Linked DNA regions of Homo sapiens: all the other regions are linked to region 4. The links are contacts of gene promoters, found by promoter capture Hi-C in blood cells and fetal thymus (Javierre and others, 2016). All regions are on one chromosome and are shown on one strand. Each heading gives the region's core, a stretch centred on a gene start or on the middle of the fragment in contact. The rest is flanking DNA. Distances are from core to core; before and after follow the strand shown. Region 1 holds the start of GRIA2 (glutamate ionotropic receptor AMPA type subunit 2). Region 2 holds the start of FGB (fibrinogen beta chain). Region 3 has its middle 25 kb from the start of GLRB. Region 4 holds the start of CTSO (cathepsin O). Region 5 overlaps PDGFC (platelet derived growth factor C). Region 6 has its middle 29 kb from the start of PDGFC. Region 7 holds the start of GLRB (glycine receptor beta).

Region 1 (2,700 bases), core at 180-2,679, 1.3 Mb after region 4:
AAATAATGATTAAATATGTATGATTTATTTATTCTTTATGTTGCAATTTTGAATATATGTAAGTTATATCTCATTTTTTATTTTTTATCGATTTATTGTAATTTTAATTAATTTTATATATTATTTTTATTATTCAATTTTTTAAAGGTTAAATACATTTTTATTTAGAAGACCTGCTTTATATACAGTGTGGAGTACTTATAACATACTAATAAAATTCTAAGGCATAAAATTAAGAGATATTTTAGTCTATAGTTTATAAGCTTAATAATAGATTACAGCTATTCTCACTTCATGGTTTAGGACTACATCAAAAAGAGGGAAAGGTTATAATTTGAAATGACAGCAATATAGGATCCAAGAGCCATAGAAGCCACTTTGCTCATCATCATTTTTAAAATGGGGAAATTGAGGCCAATGTGATTAAGAAGCAAGCATAAGATAATCCAGTCAGCAATGAAGCTGCAAGCACAAGAAGGCAGCCTGATAGACTCATGGCATTTTGGAATACTAGCAGTTCTCTTTTTAGTACTGTAAGCTCCAATCTCCCTCTTCCTGGAAACAGTTCCTTGTTCTCAATCTTTCTTTATTTGTTTAAACCAGTAAAGACATGCAACTTGGTGGGGCTTTTCTGAGTCCGCAGAGGGAATTGTCAGAGCAGGTTTCCAGGAATGAGCTTGGAAAAAGCACCATGAAGAACATAAATTTCACACGGGAAGTCCAGTCATCCATCTCGCCATCAATTCTCTCCCTTCAAACTTTTAATATCTAACCTCATCTTTCTTTCCCTGTGGCCCGCGTGTTCAGTAGAGCGTGGTGGCTTACTTTCTTTAGGCAGTGATTTTTCGAAACCCCCGGCCAAAACGCGATGGGGAAACAGATTTCTAAGTAAGTCTCTGGGAAAGAATCTGCATCTCTGTGGCATTCCTACACTAGCTTCATCTTCTAATCACTTTCCTCTAATAGCCTTTCCTTAAACCAGAGTCTCTTGCTTTCAATCTGCATAAAGCAAGGGCTTCTAGGAAACCAAGTCTACATGACTCTACAAGGGAGGGATTGCAGTGAAAGCTGCGAGAAAGACCCGTGCGCTCTGTAACTAGGCGAGTCAGCATCACAGCCCAATGGAATATACTCTAAAGATGGGATTTTCATGCAAAATATTTAAAAGATTCCATCTTGATCTCTTGTGCGGCTTAAGCATTTAAAGATATAACTTGGGGTTCTCCCTGGATCCTGGCTACATCCCATGAAGCCCAAGTGCACAATTTTGGAATATTTCCTCCACGGTGCTTTGCTTGCTTGTTTGCTTTCGGCTGGGTCAGGTGAGGAGGATGACAGGGCTTCTGTATTGCTAAATGGGTTTTCACAGGAGATGGAAGATAAAAATCAAAATTATTTGTAACGTAAGACAGCAGGGCCTGGTGAGAGGACGCTTCGCCGCCAACAATTAGCAATTCGGCTTCTACACAGCAGCCGGAGATCAGCTTTGCTGCATTTGGTCCAGGTTGGAGCATCTCCGCAGCAGCTGCAACAGCCGCACGAAGGTAGCTCCGGGCGGGGAGCGAGGCGCTGTCCTCGGTGCTGAAAGGCCGAGGCGCGCGGTGGGCGCGACAGCCCCGGAGACCCGAGGTCTCGCGGAGGGACAGCGGCTACGGGCCCCGAGCTGTGCTTTCTCAGCGCCGCGCACGCGACGCGTCCACGGTGGTGCGGGGTGCCGGGCGCCGTGCGGGGGAGGGGGCGCGCGCTCCCGCCTCCTGCCGCGAGTCGCGCACGCGCGCCCGGGACTGCCTGCCCCTCTCTGTGACTTGCCTGTGTGTGTGCGTGTGTGTATGTGTGTGTGTGTGTGTGTGTGCGCGCGCGCGTGAGTGAGAGAGGAGAGAGGGAGAAGAGAGCGCGAGAGAGGGTGAGTGTGTGTGAGTGCATGGGAGGGTGCTGAATATTCCGAGACACTGGGACCACAGCGGCAGCTCCGCTGAAAACTGCATTCAGCCAGTCCTCCGGACTTCTGGAGCGGGGACAGGGCGCAGGGCATCAGCAGCCACCAGCAGGACCTGGGAAATAGGGATTCTTCTGCCTCCACTTCAGGTTTTAGCAGCTTGGTGCTAAATTGCTGTCTCAAAATGCAGAGGATCTAATTTGCAGAGGAAAACAGCCAAAGAAGGAAGAGGAGGAAAAGGAAAAAAAAAGGGGTATATTGTGGATGCTCTACTTTTCTTGGAAATGCAAAAGATTATGCATATTTCTGTCCTCCTTTCTCCTGTTTTATGGGGACTGATTTTTGGTGTCTCTTCTAACAGCATACAGATAGGTAGGTACCCTTTGTGCTATGCTTTTGAATTGTGCATAATTTGGTGGTAATCTTTGTTCACAGTGTACAAATTAATTCATGTCATGTAGACTTATGTCATACCTTGACTGCATTCCAGATTTAAACTACCTAGAATATACATGTTTTTCTTAGGATGAAGCAAAAGGAAAAGACTATGCCTTTGATACAATAGAAGAAAAGGTCCTCTCATTTCGGATCCCCAAATTTTATTAATTCTGCCTTAGCGACATTTTCCAGTTTGCTCAGATTTTCTTGGGGTCTGAATGCAAAGCTTGTGATTACATGGAAAGGTGAAGGTTTCTGGCCGCCTACCTCGCCTTCAGACTCTCATCTGGGTCTTGACCCCTTGGCTAGCTTTTGGATATTCCACC
Region 2 (2,700 bases), core at 113-2,612, 1.4 Mb before region 4:
TGTAGTAATACGTTACCTCAAAAGAAAAAAAAAAGGTTAGAGTTTTCTTAACAGATAATTCTTTTTAAATCTGTAAGAATCTGTACGTCACTAAAATAAAATCCTGTCTAGATTATTAAAATAAACTTTGTTATCAGTTATATTTTCATGGAAAATATTCCTGTATATATTTTAATTAATAGCCACATAGATATTTGCTTTTTCTGTCAGATCATGTATCCCTTTAAAAACCATTAAAGCTAAAGAAAAAAATCTTAAAATATAATATTTACTCATTGCTAATAAAGGGAACACAAATTTGGAAAGACTCAAGTGAATATTTTTTCTTAATTTAAACTGAGTACTTTGTCTCTATTAAGCTAAGTTAAAAGAATTTGGGAGGACAACCTATGCTACCAAGAGAATAATTTGTTTCTAGGAATCTGAGTTAAAAGAATTTGGGAATGCAATCTCTGCTACCTGGAGAAGAAAGAAATGTCGTGGGTCCCACACCATTCTCAAGACTCTGTTTCAAAGCATTGTTTCAATACGCTGATCCAAACCCTGATAACCTGCCATCTTTTTAATAAAATAATTTATAAATTTAATGAGAATGTTTCACTTTCCATACAAAAAACAGAAAAATGCTTTGAATCAATGCACTTACTGGGATTTGGATTACTGACTGGTGTTCCTATTGATTCTTGTAGGAGTTATTAATCCTGATTGCAACACACAAGTGAACAGACAAGAGAGATAAATTTTGTGGCTTGTGGGAAATGAAGGAAAATGGGCCTCATTTAGTCTGTGAGCATACTAATTGAAATAGATGTATGAAGACTTCACCAGTGTTAAAATAACATTGTTTTTATAAATCATATGATATAAACTATATAACAATAAAATAGAATGTTAAACATGTATTTAATCATCATCATAATTTTGATTCAGAAATCTATAATTTATTAGTTATCTTAATAATGTTTAGAATTTGTTGAACATTTTACCTTATGTGAATTAAGGACAAAATATTAAAGCTATTCAGCACAAAAAAAGGGTCTTTCTGATGTGTATTTTTCATAGAATAGGGTATGAATTTGTTATTTTGTTATTTTGATTAATGTCTAAAACAAAAGATAAACACATTATGATATAACATTACTATTGATTTTAATGGCCCCTTTTGAAATAGAATTATGTCATTGTCAGAAAACATAAGCATTTATGGTATATCATTAATGAGTCACGATTTTAGTGGTTGCCTTGTGAGTAGGTCAAATTTACTAAGCTTAGATTTGTTTTCTCACATATTCTTTCGGAGCTTGTGTAGTTTCCACATTAATTTACCAGAAACAAGATACACATCTCTCTTTGAGGAGTGCCCTAACTTCCCATCATTTTGTCCAATTAAATGAATTGAAGAAATTTAATGTTTCTAAACTAGACCAACAAAGAATAATAGTTGTATGACAAGTAAATAAGCTTTGCTGGGAAGATGTTGCTTAAATGATAAAATGGTTCAGCCAACAAGTGAACCAAAAATTAAATATTAACTAAGGAAAGGTAACCATTTCTGAAGTCATTCCTAGCAGAGGACTCAGATATATATAGGATTGAAGATCTCTCAGTTAAGTCTACATGAAAAGGATGGTTTCTTGGAGCTTCCACAAACTTAAAACCATGAAACATCTATTATTGCTACTATTGTGTGTTTTTCTAGTTAAGTCCCAAGGTGTCAACGACAATGAGGAGGTGAATTTTTTAAAGCATTATTATATTATTAGTAGTATTATTAATATAAGATGTAACATAATCATATTATGTGCTTATTTTAATGAAATTAGCATTGCTTATAGTTATGAAATGGAATTGTTAACCTCTGACTTATTGTATTTAAAGAATGTTTCATAGTATTTCTTATATAAAAACAAAGTAATTTCTTGTTTTCTAGTTTATCACCTTTGTTTTCTTAAGATGAGGATGGCTTAGCTAATGTAAGATGTGTTTTTCTCACTTGCTATTCTGAGTACTGTGATTTTCATTTACTTCTAGCAATACAGGATTACAATTAAGAGGACAAGATCTGAAAATCTCACAAACTATAAAATAATAAAAGAGCAGAATTTTAAGATAAAAGAAACTGGTGGTAGGTAGATTGTTCTTTGGTGAAGGAAGGTAATATATATTGTTACTGAGATTACTATTTATAAAAATTATAACTAAGCCTAAAAGCAAAATACATCAAGTGTAATGATAGAAAATGAAATATTGCTTTTTTCAGATGAAAAGTTCAAATTAGAGTTAGTGTGTATTGTTATTATTAATAGTTATGAAACACGGTTCAGTCTAATTTATTTATTTGTAGAACAGTTTGTCCTCAACTATTATTTTTGCTGACTTATTGCTGTTAATTTGCAGTTACTAAAAATACAGAAATGCATTTAGGACAATGGATATTTAAGAAATTTAAATTTTATCATCAAACGTATCATGGCCAAATTTCTTACATATAGCATAGTATCATTAAACTAGAAATAAGAATACACAATAATATTTAAATGAAGTGATTCATTTCGGATCATTATTGAGTTTCAAGGGAACTTGAGTGTTGTACTTATCAGACTCTACATGTAAGAACATATAGTTAATCTGGTTGTGTGTGTAAAAACATATGGTTAATCTGGTTAAGTCTGGTTAATCATATTAGGTAAGAAAAATGTA
Region 3 (2,711 bases), core at 210-2,709, 1.1 Mb after region 4:
TAGCAAGGCCATGTCACCTTCGGTAAATAAGTACATGCCTTTTCAAAAGTAGCCTTTGGTGTATTACTGTGGTCTCGTAAAAATCGAGTGACCACGGGGCCAGAACTGCCCTTCATAAGCTGAGTTCTATCAGTTCTGCCATGTAAGGATGTCAAATGACCTTAGAAACAATCCACTGTGAGATGGGAGTGGTGCATCTGGGGAGTAAGCATGAGCAGGAATGAAAGGCACAAGCTAGTTGCCCAACGATGCAGCTCAGATCCCCATGCCATCTACCACTGCTGCACAGTGTGTCTCTCTCAGCTCATACTTATGGCCAAATGGGAGGAGAAAAAGGCAAGCTTGATTCCAGTGTGGGACAGCCTGGTATGTGGGAAAATTTTTCAGTGGAAAGAGTTTTTGGCAAGTACCTGGTAATTAACTTTGTGTAAAAAGATAAATGGCTCTAAATTAGAAATATATGGATTCATGGTCAGTGGCAAATGGCTTGTCTCCCTGCTGGGAGCTGGGAGTGGTAAGATTGAAAGATTTGAGATACGGAATTCTTGAGCAGGAGCATTTGGATGGACATGTGAGAGTGGTTACAACATGTGAAAATCTCTGTATTACATGTTAATGATCACCAAAGAACATCTAGAAAGAAAGAGTCACTTATCAAGCTAGACAAAGTCACTCAGCCAGTTGATGTCGGCCAGCTGCTGTACCCACCAATCCAATGCTGACATATGGATATATGATGGAATAGTCATGGTACAAGAGATAGGGAAAATGCATGAGCCCCAGAGCATGGGCTGCCACTTACCAAGGCCAAACCATCTACTCTTACTACCAAATTTTTAGTCTGCCAGAGCAGAAACCAGCTGTATTAGTTCCTTCTCACACTGCTCTGAAGAAATACCTGAGACTGGGTAATTTATAGAGAAAAGAGGTTTAATTGGCTCATAATTCCACAGGCTGTGCAGGATGCATGGCAGCATTTCCTTTGGGGAGGCCTCAGGGAGCTTTTACTCATGGCAGAAGGCAAAGCAGGAGCAGGCATCTTACATGGCAGGAGCAGGACTAAGAGATAGAGCGGGGAGGTGCCACACAATTTCCAAGCAACAGGAGTCTCATGATAACTCACTCACTCACTGTCACAAGAACAGTACCGAGGGGATAGTGCTAAACCATTCATGAAAACCTGCCCCCATGATCTAATTACCTCCCACCAGGCATCACCTCCAAAGCTGGGGATTACAATTCAATATGAGATTTGGGCGGGACACACATTCAACCATATCACTAACACTCATCCCCCTATGTTATCTTTCACTGAAGACATCTACAAGTCACTGGGTGGAAAGTTAACTACACAGGGCCCATTTCACACTACACAGGTTAGTGATTAATCTCGACAAAAAAAGACACATTTCCCAGATGGGAGCGGTGGCTCATGCCTGTAATCCTGGCACTTTGGGAGACCGAAGCGGGCGGATCATGAGGTCAGGAAATCGAGACCATCCTGGCTAACACGGTGAAACCCAGTCTCTACTAAAAATACAAAAAATTAGCCGGGCATTGTGGCACGGGCCTGTAGTCCCAGCTACTCAGGAGGCTGAAGCAGGAGAATCGCTTGAACCTGGGAGGCAGAGGTTGCAGTAAGCCAAGATCGCACCATTGCACTCCAGCCTGGGAGACAGAGTGAGACTCCATCTCAAAAAAAAAAAAAAAAAAAAAAAAAAAAGAAAAAGACACGTTTCTCTTAGCCCCTAAGTTGACACATAAAATTAACAATCATATCCCTCAATTTCCAAGTTTACTTAAGATGTCACTTTATATACTCTTAGCCTCTGATTTTTATCTGTAACACATATTAATGTATTAATGTAATGTAATACATAGGTGTTATATAAATGTGTATGTATGTATTTGTACATATACATAAATAAAATATTCATTATATATATTATGAATAGTCTAAAACTATAAATCCTTAGGGTTCTGGTTGCCAGTGTTATTATCACTCATAACAAATCTTAATTTAGCATTTTTGGTATATAACCTGGGCACAGTAGTAAACTTCCTTGGGCCTCATTATGCCTACCTGTAAAATGGGAATGAAAATATCTAATAGTCCATTGGAAATTTATGTGCCAAGAATTATAGTTTTCTAGCATAAGATATTTTTTGGAATATTGGCTAGTTTTTTGAAAATATTACATTGGGCTAGGTACTTATTTTCTCTGTGCCTCAGTTTTTTCATCTATAAAAATAAAATAACAATGGCACACCTGTAAGGGTTTAGTGAGGATTGAATGTGTTCTTGTATAGAAAATGCCTATACAATGGCTGCAATATCCCTTCAATAAACTTTTGGTATTATTATTCTGTAGATACTCTAGTCAAGTAACCAGTGTGCAGCAGCTATTTCATATACCTCCTCTATTCTGAAAAGCCCCACTTTCCTTCTCCCGGCCTCCTACCTTACCAGATAATCATGCCTCCTATCTAAAGGATAAGGTAGCATTTTCATCTCTCCATTCAACCTGCCATTTATAGCCATGCTGTCCTCCTTTTTGTTACACCGTGTTCTTTGACAAAAGCTTCTCCCTCCCTATGTGCTCTGGTGGGTGTGTTTCTGGAATCTGACAGTCTGCCCTCTGGTCACCAAAGATGCCCTTACTCTTCTCATCCACAGAACATACTAATCTTCTGTATTGGAGTTTAATCAG
Region 4 (2,700 bases), core at 33-2,532:
ACTTCTGGTTTTGAAAGCTAGAACTGAACTCAAGAATAATAAAGTGGAGATAACAGTACACATCTCGGTTTGGACAAAACGTAAGAGTGGACAGAATCAGGGAAGGCTGGCCTTCCTAAACATTGGAGCTTTCCAGGAGAGTCGGGGGAAAAGAGCACAGCTATGAAATCCTGTGAGAAATTCCAACAAACACCAGGAAAAAAGATACACTTCCTTGAGCAATATTACTCAACTCAGACTTATGTTTGATTCAGAATGAAAGAATTTTCTTTTCCAATAAATTAAATCATGATAATGGCATCTTTCATGAATTTAAAAATGTGTTAAATAGTATCAGCTATCTAGAACATAGTGAGGCGAACACTAAATCGGCATCCCTTGCAGTTTCCTTGGTTTCAGGAAAATCATTATTTGTGCTCAGCTAACTGGTCCCTTCCAGAGTTTTCATGCTAGACTCAAATCTAAGTATTTATTATAAATATTATAAAATATAAATTATATTATATTTCGTATAATAATATGAAAAGGAAATTAAATGCTTCTCTTTTCTTCAACTCAGTCTCCGCCAAGGCAGGAAGAACTTTTAAAGTGGTGCGTTAGTTTAAGGAGAATCATAAACCATCAGGATTCTTTAATCTGGCTAAAGACAGGCTCTTTGTTTCTAACTTCTGATCACTAGCGCCCTCCTCGGGAAAAAAAAACACGACAGGTTTCTTCCACCAACAGGCTGCTCCCTGTTTCTGGTTCTCATAAAAGAGAAATAGAAGAGCTTTGGAAGCCAGTGGCAACGATAGAGGGGATTGCTAAAAGGGGGTGCTTCTTCCCACCAAGGACACTTTGGACGTATCTATGGATTTATTTGGGTGCGTCCCAAAAATCCATAGCGACAAATCTCTTCTGGAAAATCAAGTCTTTTGGTTAGCAAAGGCATGGGGGAGTGACACCATGGCACAAGGAGAGGGGAGAGAGAAGCTGGCTTTTGCACCCGCAGCTCAGGGCCCCAGACGCATCGCAGAGCCACGGGTGCCCACGAGCAGGGTCAGCTCTCGGGGGCCCTCTTCCGCAGCCCAGACCCGGGACAGGAAGTGAGGGAGCAGGGACAGATCCCGGGGAGGCGCGCGCTCGGTACCCGGAAGGCGGCGGCTTCACGCTCGCGGCTCCGCGGCCAGGTCGGGGTGAAGGGGGCGCGGGAGTCCGCATCGCCGCCGCCCCGGCACAGCAGCCACAGCAGCCACGGCAGCCACGGCAGCGCCCGCACGTCCATTGCGGCGCCCGGCTCCTCTGCCGCCCGCGCGGCCTGTTTTCTCTTTCGGTTCCTCGGCTCCTCCCAGCCTGGGCTCGAGGGGCGGAAGGAGCTGGGTTGAGTGCACGATGCTGAGATTGACCCTTTTTTAGGTCCCCGGTGTTCTGTGACTGAAAATCCGGTCAGCTGGAGGCTACGGACCTCCTTGCTGAGGCTAGTTTTTTTGTTTTTGTTTTTGTTTTGGAAGAGTCAGGCACTTGACCATGTGCTTTCGAGGTTTCACTTCCATCCATTAGAAAAAAAGAAGCCTGAGAGTCATTCTTTTGTGTGTGTTGAGATCAGGTCTCACTGCAGCCTCGACCTTCAGGTTCAAGTGCCTCCTGCCTCAGCCTCCGGAGTACCTGGGACTACAGGCGCGTGCCACCACCCCAGGCTATTTTTGTATTTTTAGTAGAGATAGGATCTTGCCATATTGCCCAGGCCGGTCTCGAACTCCTGGACTCTAGTGATCCACCCGCCTTGGCCTCCCAAAATGCTCACAGGTGTGAGCCACCTGGCCTGCCCTGTGAGCCACCGGAAGCTGCCTTTTTCCTTCTTGCCACAATCCCTAAGTTCAAGACCTAGTTCTGAAGTGATGTGGGCCAATACATAGAGTCATCCATTCAGCAGATGTTTATAAATACGTAACAAAATTGTACAGATGTGAAAAGCATACACAGTTTTTGGATCTATTATGGCAGTTTCAAAACTCTTGAAGCCTGTTTCTCCGTTTGCAAAGGAAGATAGAGCCAAGTACATAATTTGCAGGGTTCCGTGTAAACTGAAAATGAAGTTCCCTTGTTCATAAATTGTGAAGAATTTCAAGACGGCAACAGCAGAGCATTAACCCAAGCCATGGGCCTTCTAAGCACCCACTTCTGCACAGGTCACACACTCATGAACCTGGCTCTACCGAGCCTTTCTATTATCATCTATTCTGAACAAGGCTTCCATGTCTGTGAAATTCATATCATTACCCTTGTAGATTTTTAGAACTAACATCAGATTTATGTCTTTAGTTTTTACCTAGGTGCAGTGAGTTACAATATTCTCCAATGCAAACTTCGTAATAAAAATAAAAATAATGTTCCGAGTATTAAGAGGAAAGACACAAGAGTTTTTTATGTACGTTCATGATAAGATATATTGCTCTTGGCAAGTGTGGTGATAAAGATTTTATTTAAATCATAAGTTCACAGAACGATGTTCATGTTTACCTCAGCAGTTCTTTTGTACTTAGCCCTTTTTTGTGACTCATACAAGCACATACTTTTCTTTTTAAACTGAACTTTGCTTTCAGATCATAGTCCCTGTTTATTGACAACCTACGGAGTCAGGAAATTTAAATATAGGCAGTCATCTTTACTTTAGGATAATTGGTATTGTAAAAAAGCCCCTTGAACTAAACTCATTTCAGG
Region 5 (2,700 bases), core at 95-2,594, 1.0 Mb after region 4:
GCCTGGGGAAGTTAAGGCTGCAGTGAGCTGTGATCATACCACTGCACTCCAGCCTGGGTGACAGTGAAACCATGTCTCAAAAATAAAACAAAACAAAACAAATACAAAAGGGAAAAAGCTAAGTACAAAAAAAAAATCACAGTCTGAAAATAAAAGAGGAATTAAGTGGAATAGCAAGAGAGCAAATTTAGTGAAGCCAGCCTGGCAAAGATAGTCTGGTGTGGAAACAGGGCAAATAACCGTCCAGGGAGGAGCCTACTCAGTCACTAGGGGATGATAAAAAGTGGCTTGAAGGTGGCACATGAATTCTAACGAGAAATCTGATGACAAATAAAATTAACAAAACTAAATTTAAAATGCATTCCCATGAGGTAAAAGGCAAAATTAGCGAATGCTACCAAAAGTATCACTTATAACAACTTGGCTTTAATTATAAACGTAGTTATTATAGTTCCCCTTTATAATTTTTAGCTCCCTTTGTTTTCAGATTTGGGAACTTTGCAAACCAAAGTTTAAAAAGGTAAATTAATAATATTTTAGGCAAGCCATTCAAGTTTATAGCTATGAATTTATTTTCTGACGGTCTTGACCAAAAAAAAAAAAAAAAACTTGAACTTCTGAATAGAATATCCCATAGAATATAGTGTAAATAAAAGTTAAGGTCACTCACTGAATATATTTCAAAAATAATAGGTTATACTTTCTAGCGTTCACTAAACATGCTTATTTATTCATTTTTATGGTACTTTTATCATTGAGATGTACTGTTAAATGAAATGTTAAAATTATTACCAGAAAGTTTCCTTGTGGAACCAAGCATGCCAATGTCAGCCATATTATTCATCACCATCACTGAATAAGCCAAAATATTAAAATAAACATCCTTCATCTATATACTTGCTTAAAGTACAGTTCTAACATAATGGTAACCATTATAAAGGTAGTATTTCCAGTTATTTGCCAATTTGTCAGATGCCTACAGAAACAGAAGTTATCACTATATATATATATAGTGATATATATATAACAGTATATATATAGTGATACTATATATACTGTATATATAGTACATATATATACAGTATATATATAGTGATATATATATACCATTCCATTTGACTAATGTGATTATTATGAGATTGTTTCCCTTACTGTTCCCGTAAATATTTCCGAAGCAACAGATTCTTACCTCATCTCCCAATCTGAAAACCATGCAATCCACTAACATAATAAAGAAATGCTTTTATAAAAAGTATGTGAATTTTGAAACCAGGATTCCATTTTCCTAATTGGTTCTCACATAAGGAAAAATGTATCACCACATTAGCAGTTTAATAGTGGCTGTCTAGTGGCCTTGACAAAGTCAAGTCAACTTCTGCTCTCTAGGCCTCAATCTGCACATCAGTGAGGATAAGTTCCTGGGGTCTTTCCAACTCTAACATTCCTCATACCACACATGTTGCTGAGTTCTAGCCTGTGCAAGTTATCCTTGAGCCACAGGTAAAATATAGAAAGTACACAGATTTTGGAGGCTTGTCATCTATGCAACATTTTCAAGAGTCCTTGGTCTGCATCACATGACAGTCCCCATCTTCAGAAAATGTAAGGCTATGCACAGCAATGACACTTAAAAGAGTAACCAGTTCTAGGAAACCTATCCATTTGCCTGGTACCTGCTCACTTGGTAACATAATCTTTATCAAGAGTAAAACGTGGTACTCTGATTGGCACAACCATCACTACCAATACATGAACAAGCTATCTTCCTATTTAAGAAGTCAAGTAGTGTGCAAGCTCCAAGACCAAAAAGATATCTTAAAAGATGGCCTGTTGTTAGAGTTAACAGCATAGTCTTTCTTTAATAAGATACTAACTACCTCCAGAACCTTTCAACAGATACTCATCGGGCACACTCTGCCATACCTGTCTCAGGTGCTGGAGTTCCTACAGGAAGCGATTCAAACAAGGTCCACGCTCTCAACAACTTAGATTTTATGGTGGGGGTGAGGGATGTTGGTAGATAATAAATTAATTAATTAATAAACAAGAATATCAAGGAGTATTAAGTACTACATAATTAATTAATTAACCTTGACAAGACAGTGAGGGGTGGTTAATTTAGACTTAGTGGTCAGAAAAAAGACCTCTCTGAGGAAGTGAATCATTTAATCTAGATGAAGGGAAGGTGTTATCCATGCAAGAGCAGCTGGTTAGTGTTAGCCAGAGAGGCAGGGGCAAATGACTGGAAGTTGCAATTGTATGCTGAGTGTGCCATGTCCACCATCTCATCACTCCCCCAGCCATAACCCTTGAGGAGCTAAAGCCAAAAGAGCTGCAGGAAGGGAGCTTGAAAGAAGCCATACCCCTTCTTACTCCAGGTCCTTCAAGTCATGGGTCAGGCCTGAGCTGCCAAGCAGAGAGGAAAAAAGATAGAAATTTTAACCCCAATATGAACTAAAATTGTCCACAGCTAAAAGTGTCAAAATGCTTAACAATCAGTACGGCAGGAACACTGATCGATCAGGACAGAGGCCAGCAGGGTTGCAGAAGTATCTCAGAGGCCTTAAGCAGTACCAGGCATTGGAATTTCTGCTTCATCACGTGTTGGTCCATTTGTCTTAGAGGAGTTGCACTAGTCTCTTCCCAACTCATTGGAAATATTTCAACATTTCAACATTTTGGTAATCAGTATGGAACTAA
Region 6 (2,700 bases), core at 87-2,586, 1.0 Mb after region 4:
CCTTAACATGTACTTCACAATAGGTGAGTTACAGTAACTTTAGGAGAGCATATTTAGGATGGTGTTGGTGATCCCAGAGCTTAAATGCACATACAAAAACCAAGGTGTACTTTAATCATGAAATTAGTAACTCTGGGTTAAAATTCTCCATAGGGCATCTGGTCCAATTCTACAGGCAATAATTTAATCAATAGTAAAAGAGCTTTAATAAGATTTTTTCCAACTTGGCTTGAATACCCCTTAGAGACAAATAAATCCTTATATCACAAAGCTGACCAAACCATTTCTGTATAGTTCTAAGTGTTGAAAAGTTTGAATTTACATCGAGTCAAAATTTACCTATATGTGAATTTCACACAATTTTTCAAATTTATCATCTAAAAACTCATAAAACTTGACCTGAGCTTGGTTTGACTTTCTGGAAGAGTCAGTGTCTAGGACTGGAGTTACTTGGAAATCAGAGCAAAAATTGCAGTCATAAAGCTCACTTTTCCTGAGTTTGCTAAGCTGCGAAAACTCAGACCTTCTCTCTGAACACAAGGACCAAGTACTTGGGAGTTTGTGTTCCTTAGGGTTTAGGGGTGAGTGAAGTCACTGGTGATTGCCTCTTCCATGGAAGTGTCAGAGTCTAGTATCGGAGTTTCTTGAAAGTCAGATAAAAGATTGAATCGGAAAACTCACTTATCCATATGGTAGCCCTATAGGTTTTTTGAGAACAATGGTCATTTCCCATTTAGACTATTCTTCTTTAAACTAAATTTCCCTCAAATTTTTTCAATTTTTCAATGTATGACAGGTTTTGAAGTTTTCTTACTATTTTGGTGACCCTTCTGTTATTATTTTCCAGTTTTTCCAACATTCTACTTATGGTATGTATGGTAGACAGGATTTCTTTTTTTTTTTTTTTAATATCTAAGAATGTTATTTTCTTTTTTTTTCTTTTTTTTTATTAAAGTTTTAGGGTACATGTGCACATTGTGCAGGTTAGTTACATATGTATACATGTGCCATGCTGGTGCGCTGCACCCACCAACTCGTCATCTAGCATTAGGTATATCTCCCAATGCTATCATGGTAGACAGGATTTCTAATAATGCCAGAAAGAATGAAACAGAAAACCACTTCTGTTAAAAGTTAACTTCAAAACAAGAGTAAAATCATGACTCCTGTAGATATAAAAATGAATACATGTTAAAGATTTCATATAATCAATAAGGACATCAGGCAGGCATTTTTACTGTTTCAAAAAAAATCTAAAGAAGAGATAGATTTATAGAACAGAAATATTGAAAAGAAGGCACAGTTATAGACAAAACTGCTGTCTTGTTTTTGTTTTTCATTGTGGTGGGAGGAGTCAGATAACCAGAAGAGTGGCTGGAGTCTAGATAATGCAAAGTTCTCCACTGAAGCACAGGTATCTTTCCTACATTTCCTTGCTCTAGATACTAGTCTTTAAAATTCACAGGATAATGATAAATATATAACCCAATACTTGATAGTTGTAAAATTGCCATACAGCTTTAAAAAGTTTCTTTGTATTATAAGGTTTAATATAATATGCCAATAAACACTGAGGTTAGTCTTATGTAAAAAAGAGGAGGTGTTGAAAGTTTGCCCTTCTGTGGCATATCTTAAATGATCAATAGTTTGCTAATTGTATCTTCTCTTTCAAGTTTTCAATATTTCATGGTCTCTGGATTTACCAGTTTCAAATTAGTTAACAAATTCAAGTTCACTGAAAAAATACCAACTTAATTCATAAGTCTGCTATATGCATAACATACAAAATAAGTAAAAAATACAGATTTTTGTAGATAAATTATATTTTAGTTGAACAGAACAAGGGGAAGATACATACAAATATATTAAAGACAAAGCATACCTCATTTAAAGGCAAAAAAGCTATTGGATTTTTAAAAATGAGTTAATATGTTAGGTTAGAATAATCAGAAACGACTCAATGAGAAAATTGGATTTTCACAAATTATAACAAGATACAGAGTACTCAAGGAGAAGGAAACAAAAAGTATGGATTCTAGATTAGAATAACTGGAAATATTGCTCAGTCATTCAAGGGTCTTAATTGTCAAGTTAATTAATTTGTATTTAATTCTTAAAACATAACTATTAGAATTTTTAAAAAATGTTATTTACATAATAAGAACAATTCTGTGATTTAATCTAACATAGCTATGAAGGTTAGATTGGAAAGCACAGAGACTTAGATAAGAAGACCACTAGAAAGTAAAATTTATGTGACTTGACAGCAATTTTTTTTTCTTTTGGCTATGGAGCAAGAAGGGATAGGAGTAGAGAAGGGAGAGAAAATAATGAAAGATGATTCCAACTTTTCCAATGTAGGTAAAAATCTCTATTAGCTTCCTAGGGCTGCTATAACCAATTACCATAACTGGTAGCCTAAAACAACATAAATTTATTCTCTAACTGGTCTGAAGTCTAGAAATCCCAAGTCCTGGTGTCAGCAGGGACATGCTTCCTCTGAAAGCTCTAGGGAAGAACCTTTACTAGCCTCTTCCTAGCTGTTGGTGACTCCTGCAATCTTTGGCTCCCTTGGTTTGTAGCAGCATCATCAATCTCTGTCTCTATCTTCACATGGCCTTCTTCTTTGTGTTTCTCTTCTGTATCTCTGCGCATCCACTTCTTATAAGGACACCAGTCATCGGATTTTTAAGACTCACC
Region 7 (2,700 bases), core at 131-2,630, 1.1 Mb after region 4:
ATTAATGATCACTACTCTTAGGCAGCAGAATATCTCATGAAGCTTATGGAACACGGTTATATGCAGGAAATATTCCTTCCCTCCATATGCTGCGGGTGGAAAAATTTATTAGTGGATACATCTGTGGGTCCACAATACAATGCTAAGTGATGCTCACTTGAGACAATGCTTTTTTAATAAAAAAAATCCATCAGGACCTGGTGCAGTGGGGTGGGGTGGCTCAAGCCTGTAAGCCCCCCAGCTTGGGAGGCTAAGGCAGGCGGATGGCTTCAGGCCAGAGTTGGAGACCATCCTGGACAACAAAGCCAGAGATGCTGTCTCTTAAAAAATAATAATAATAATTAGTGGAGCGCAATGGCCTGTCTGTTGTTCCAGCTACTCTACTAGGGAGACCGAGACAAGAGGATCTCTTGATTGCCCAGAAGTTCAAGACTGCGGTGAGCGATGACTGTGCCTCTGCACTCCAGCCTGGGCAACAAAGTGAGCTCCTGTTGCTTAAAAAATAACAATTAAAAAAAATCAATCAGGCATACATTCAAGAGGTAATAGGATAGCCTTATCTGTTATCTAAGGGCTGCATATCCAAGTAAGGGCTACTTCTTCACAAGGATGAGGACAACAGTATTTTGCTCTTATAAGGCAGAGACCCTGTCTGGTTCAGATATGCAAAAATCACTAATTTTGAATCTCTGGTAAATTTCTTTCAAGATCTGTAACTCTAAGTAAATCTCTTAATATAACTGAGTTTCAGATTCTTCATCTACAGAAGGGGATGACAAAACTTGCCCAGGAATGTGGTGAGGGCCACATGAGATAAGGCGAGTGAAAGGTGTTTTGCAACTGTCAAGTTCTGTACACATGTTAATTATGTAACAGATGTTAAACATAGTATTACCTGTATGACTATATTGTCAGTAATTTTGACCAATTTAAGCTTGCTCAGAAAGTTCAGGCTTTTAGAAATTGGAAGACCCGGAGATTAAGCTGGATGTCTGGGTTCCAGGCAAATGGTGAAATGACAGAAAATGTGTTTTGTTCGCTTTGACCCAAGAAGGTCATTTGTTGCTCTGTTGTTTGTTGCTAGTGGTCAAAAGCTGACCCCAAGCAATCCCAGCTCCTTGAAAGGTTTTTTCTTTTTGTACCGACACTATCATTCCCGCCCTTCGTCCCCAACTCCTTTAGTCCCCTAAGGAGTGAGGGGGGTACACATTTCTGCTCGGTAACCCCTCCAATGCCTGAAGGGGACGATGCCGTGACGTTGCTCTGTCGGGACACCTCTTCCCTCCCCCGCCCGCGGTCGCCAGGTTCCCCCGCGGCCCGCGCTGTCCCCGCTGCGGCCCCGACCGCGGCGCGCCACGGCGCAGGCTCCGCGGCCCGAGCAGGCGCGTCAGCCGAGCTCGGCGGTGGCGCGGGCGGCTGGGACGCAGCTGCCCCCGCTCGGCGCCCGCTGCACCCTTAGCAGCCACTGCCACCTGGGCCCGGAGCCTCCACGATCTCGCCCGGCGATTGTGGGCAGGGGCGCCTCCGGGTAAGTGCCAGGAGCTCCACTTAGGAGGAGGGGACGCGGGTTGGGGCGGCGACGGTGGTCTGAGGACGGGAATAGACGCCTTTGCGGAAACAGCGGGTCAAGCCCGGGGCGGCGGAGCGCGAGGAGCACTGCGGCGTGCCCGGGAGGACGCGCGCTGCCCTGCGCGGGAGAGGGGCGCGGGGCGCCTGGCAGCGGCAGCCGGGTCCCCGCTGCGGTGGCGCCCGCGGAGACGCTCCGGGTGGAGAGATGCAGAGGGCCGGGGTAATTAGGAAACGCAAGGTTGGCCAGGAGGGCTCCTTGCGTTGTTTTGTTTATGAGGATCCTCCAGTCAATGCAGCTGTCCCCCTTGAAAGATTGGGGGTGAGGACAGAGCAGAGTGGTGAATTTCTCTGTTTTTCGAAGCGTTAGGGGGGCTCGGCCCTCCTTTTTGCGGGGGCAAGGATGTGAAAGTGGGAGAAGTACCTGCTGCTGTGGGCAAGGTGTCTGGAAGCAGGTGCCGCTGTCGGATGGGGGAAGGGAGCGTCCAATGTTGTGAAGTTGCCAGAGGAGAACCTTGTGTTGTTGCTGTTGGTCTGATGAGCCCCCTCTGTTGTCTTCAATTTAAAGTACCCAGGGAGAAGCCCCTCTGGCTTGCCTGGAGTGTGTGTAAAAGATAAATATGGGGGGAAGAATCCTGGGGGGGGGGGGGGAAGATGAAAAACATGACATAAGGAGAAGCAAATTTCTGAGGGTGAGATGGGAATTAAGTTAGCGTTGAAGAATATGACAGGTCTTTTACTCTGCGGAAAACAATGAAAGAGAAACAATTTATGGTTTGGAAATGAAGGTTGCAGAAGAGTTTGAACTTCTCTAGTGTAGGTAGAGGCTTAATTATTTTTTATTTATCAGAATCTCTGGCAAGAATATGGTTCTGATTTGAGCATGAAAATGTTATTAAAATATGGCTAGGACGATAATTTGAAAAAAATGTAACAACACTTGTTTTATTTCTTGTTGTAGAATTTCTGAAGTAATCTTTTTGATGACAAATGTTAGTAGCAAATAAGTAAGAAAGCTTTAAAGCTAACTTAAGAGGCACCTTTTTGGGGCAAAAAGGTAGCTTGCCAATGTAATGTGTTTAAATAAAAAAAGCAATGAATTTTGAATGTGGAACTCTTTGATATTAACTTTTT

The links. The method cuts DNA at HindIII sites, captures the fragments that hold promoters and counts their contacts. A CHiCAGO score of 5 or more calls a contact.
Region 1: a contact is called between a fragment that was not itself captured here and the fragment with the promoter of CTSO in region 4, in 1 of 17 cell types (M1 macrophages). The highest score is 5.6, in M1 macrophages.
Region 2: a fragment that was not itself captured here is called in contact with the fragment with the promoter of CTSO in region 4 in 1 of 17 cell types (naive CD8 T cells); the score reaches 7.0 in naive CD8 T cells.
Region 3: a contact is called between a fragment that was not itself captured here and the fragment with the promoter of CTSO in region 4, in 2 of 17 cell types (M0 macrophages and monocytes). The highest score is 8.9, in M0 macrophages.
Region 5: a contact is called between a fragment that was not itself captured here and the fragment with the promoter of CTSO in region 4, in 1 of 17 cell types (monocytes). The highest score is 5.8, in monocytes.
Region 6: a contact is called between a fragment that was not itself captured here and the fragment with the promoter of CTSO in region 4, in 1 of 17 cell types (monocytes). The highest score is 6.0, in monocytes.
Region 7: the fragment with the promoter of GLRB here is called in contact with the fragment with the promoter of CTSO in region 4 in 1 of 17 cell types (erythroblasts); the score reaches 5.8 in erythroblasts.

The regions. Positions count from the first base shown.
Region 1 is chr4:157,218,823-157,221,522 of GRCh38, forward strand. It overlaps GRIA2 (glutamate ionotropic receptor AMPA type subunit 2), which reads left to right and starts at 1,906. Exons shown (of 16, transcript NM_001083619.3): 1 at 1,906-2,308. The coding sequence starts at 2,221. The HindIII fragment of the contact is 2,337 bases long and covers 262-2,598 here.
Region 2 is chr4:154,561,402-154,564,101 of GRCh38, forward strand. It overlaps FGB (fibrinogen beta chain), which reads left to right and starts at 1,610. Exons shown (of 8, transcript NM_005141.5): 1 at 1,610-1,731. The coding sequence starts at 1,618. The HindIII fragment of the contact is 194 bases long and covers 1,266-1,459 here.
Region 3 is chr4:157,049,560-157,052,270 of GRCh38, forward strand. No RefSeq gene overlaps it. Among named protein-coding and RNA genes, the nearest start is that of GLRB, 25 kb to the right of the region's middle. The HindIII fragment of the contact is 2,241 bases long and covers 340-2,580 here.
Region 4 is chr4:155,952,584-155,955,283 of GRCh38, forward strand. CTSO (cathepsin O) reads right to left here and starts at 1,283. Exons shown (of 8, transcript NM_001334.3): 1 at 1,130-1,283. The coding sequence starts at 1,264. RefSeq lists an enhancer at 2,394-2,688. The HindIII fragment of the contact is 8,738 bases long and covers 1-2,700 here.
Region 5 is chr4:156,963,391-156,966,090 of GRCh38, forward strand. The region is part of intron 1 of PDGFC (platelet derived growth factor C); the gene reads right to left. Among named protein-coding and RNA genes, the nearest start is that of PDGFC, 7.1 kb to the right of the region's middle. The HindIII fragment of the contact is 3,699 bases long and covers 1-2,700 here.
Region 6 is chr4:156,999,775-157,002,474 of GRCh38, forward strand. No RefSeq gene overlaps it. Among named protein-coding and RNA genes, the nearest start is that of PDGFC, 29 kb to the left of the region's middle. RefSeq lists an enhancer at 1-293. The HindIII fragment of the contact is 5,247 bases long and covers 1-2,700 here.
Region 7 is chr4:157,074,770-157,077,469 of GRCh38, forward strand. GLRB (glycine receptor beta) reads left to right here and starts at 1,381. Exons shown (of 10, transcript NM_000824.5): 1 at 1,381-1,528. The HindIII fragment of the contact is 1,648 bases long and covers 933-2,580 here.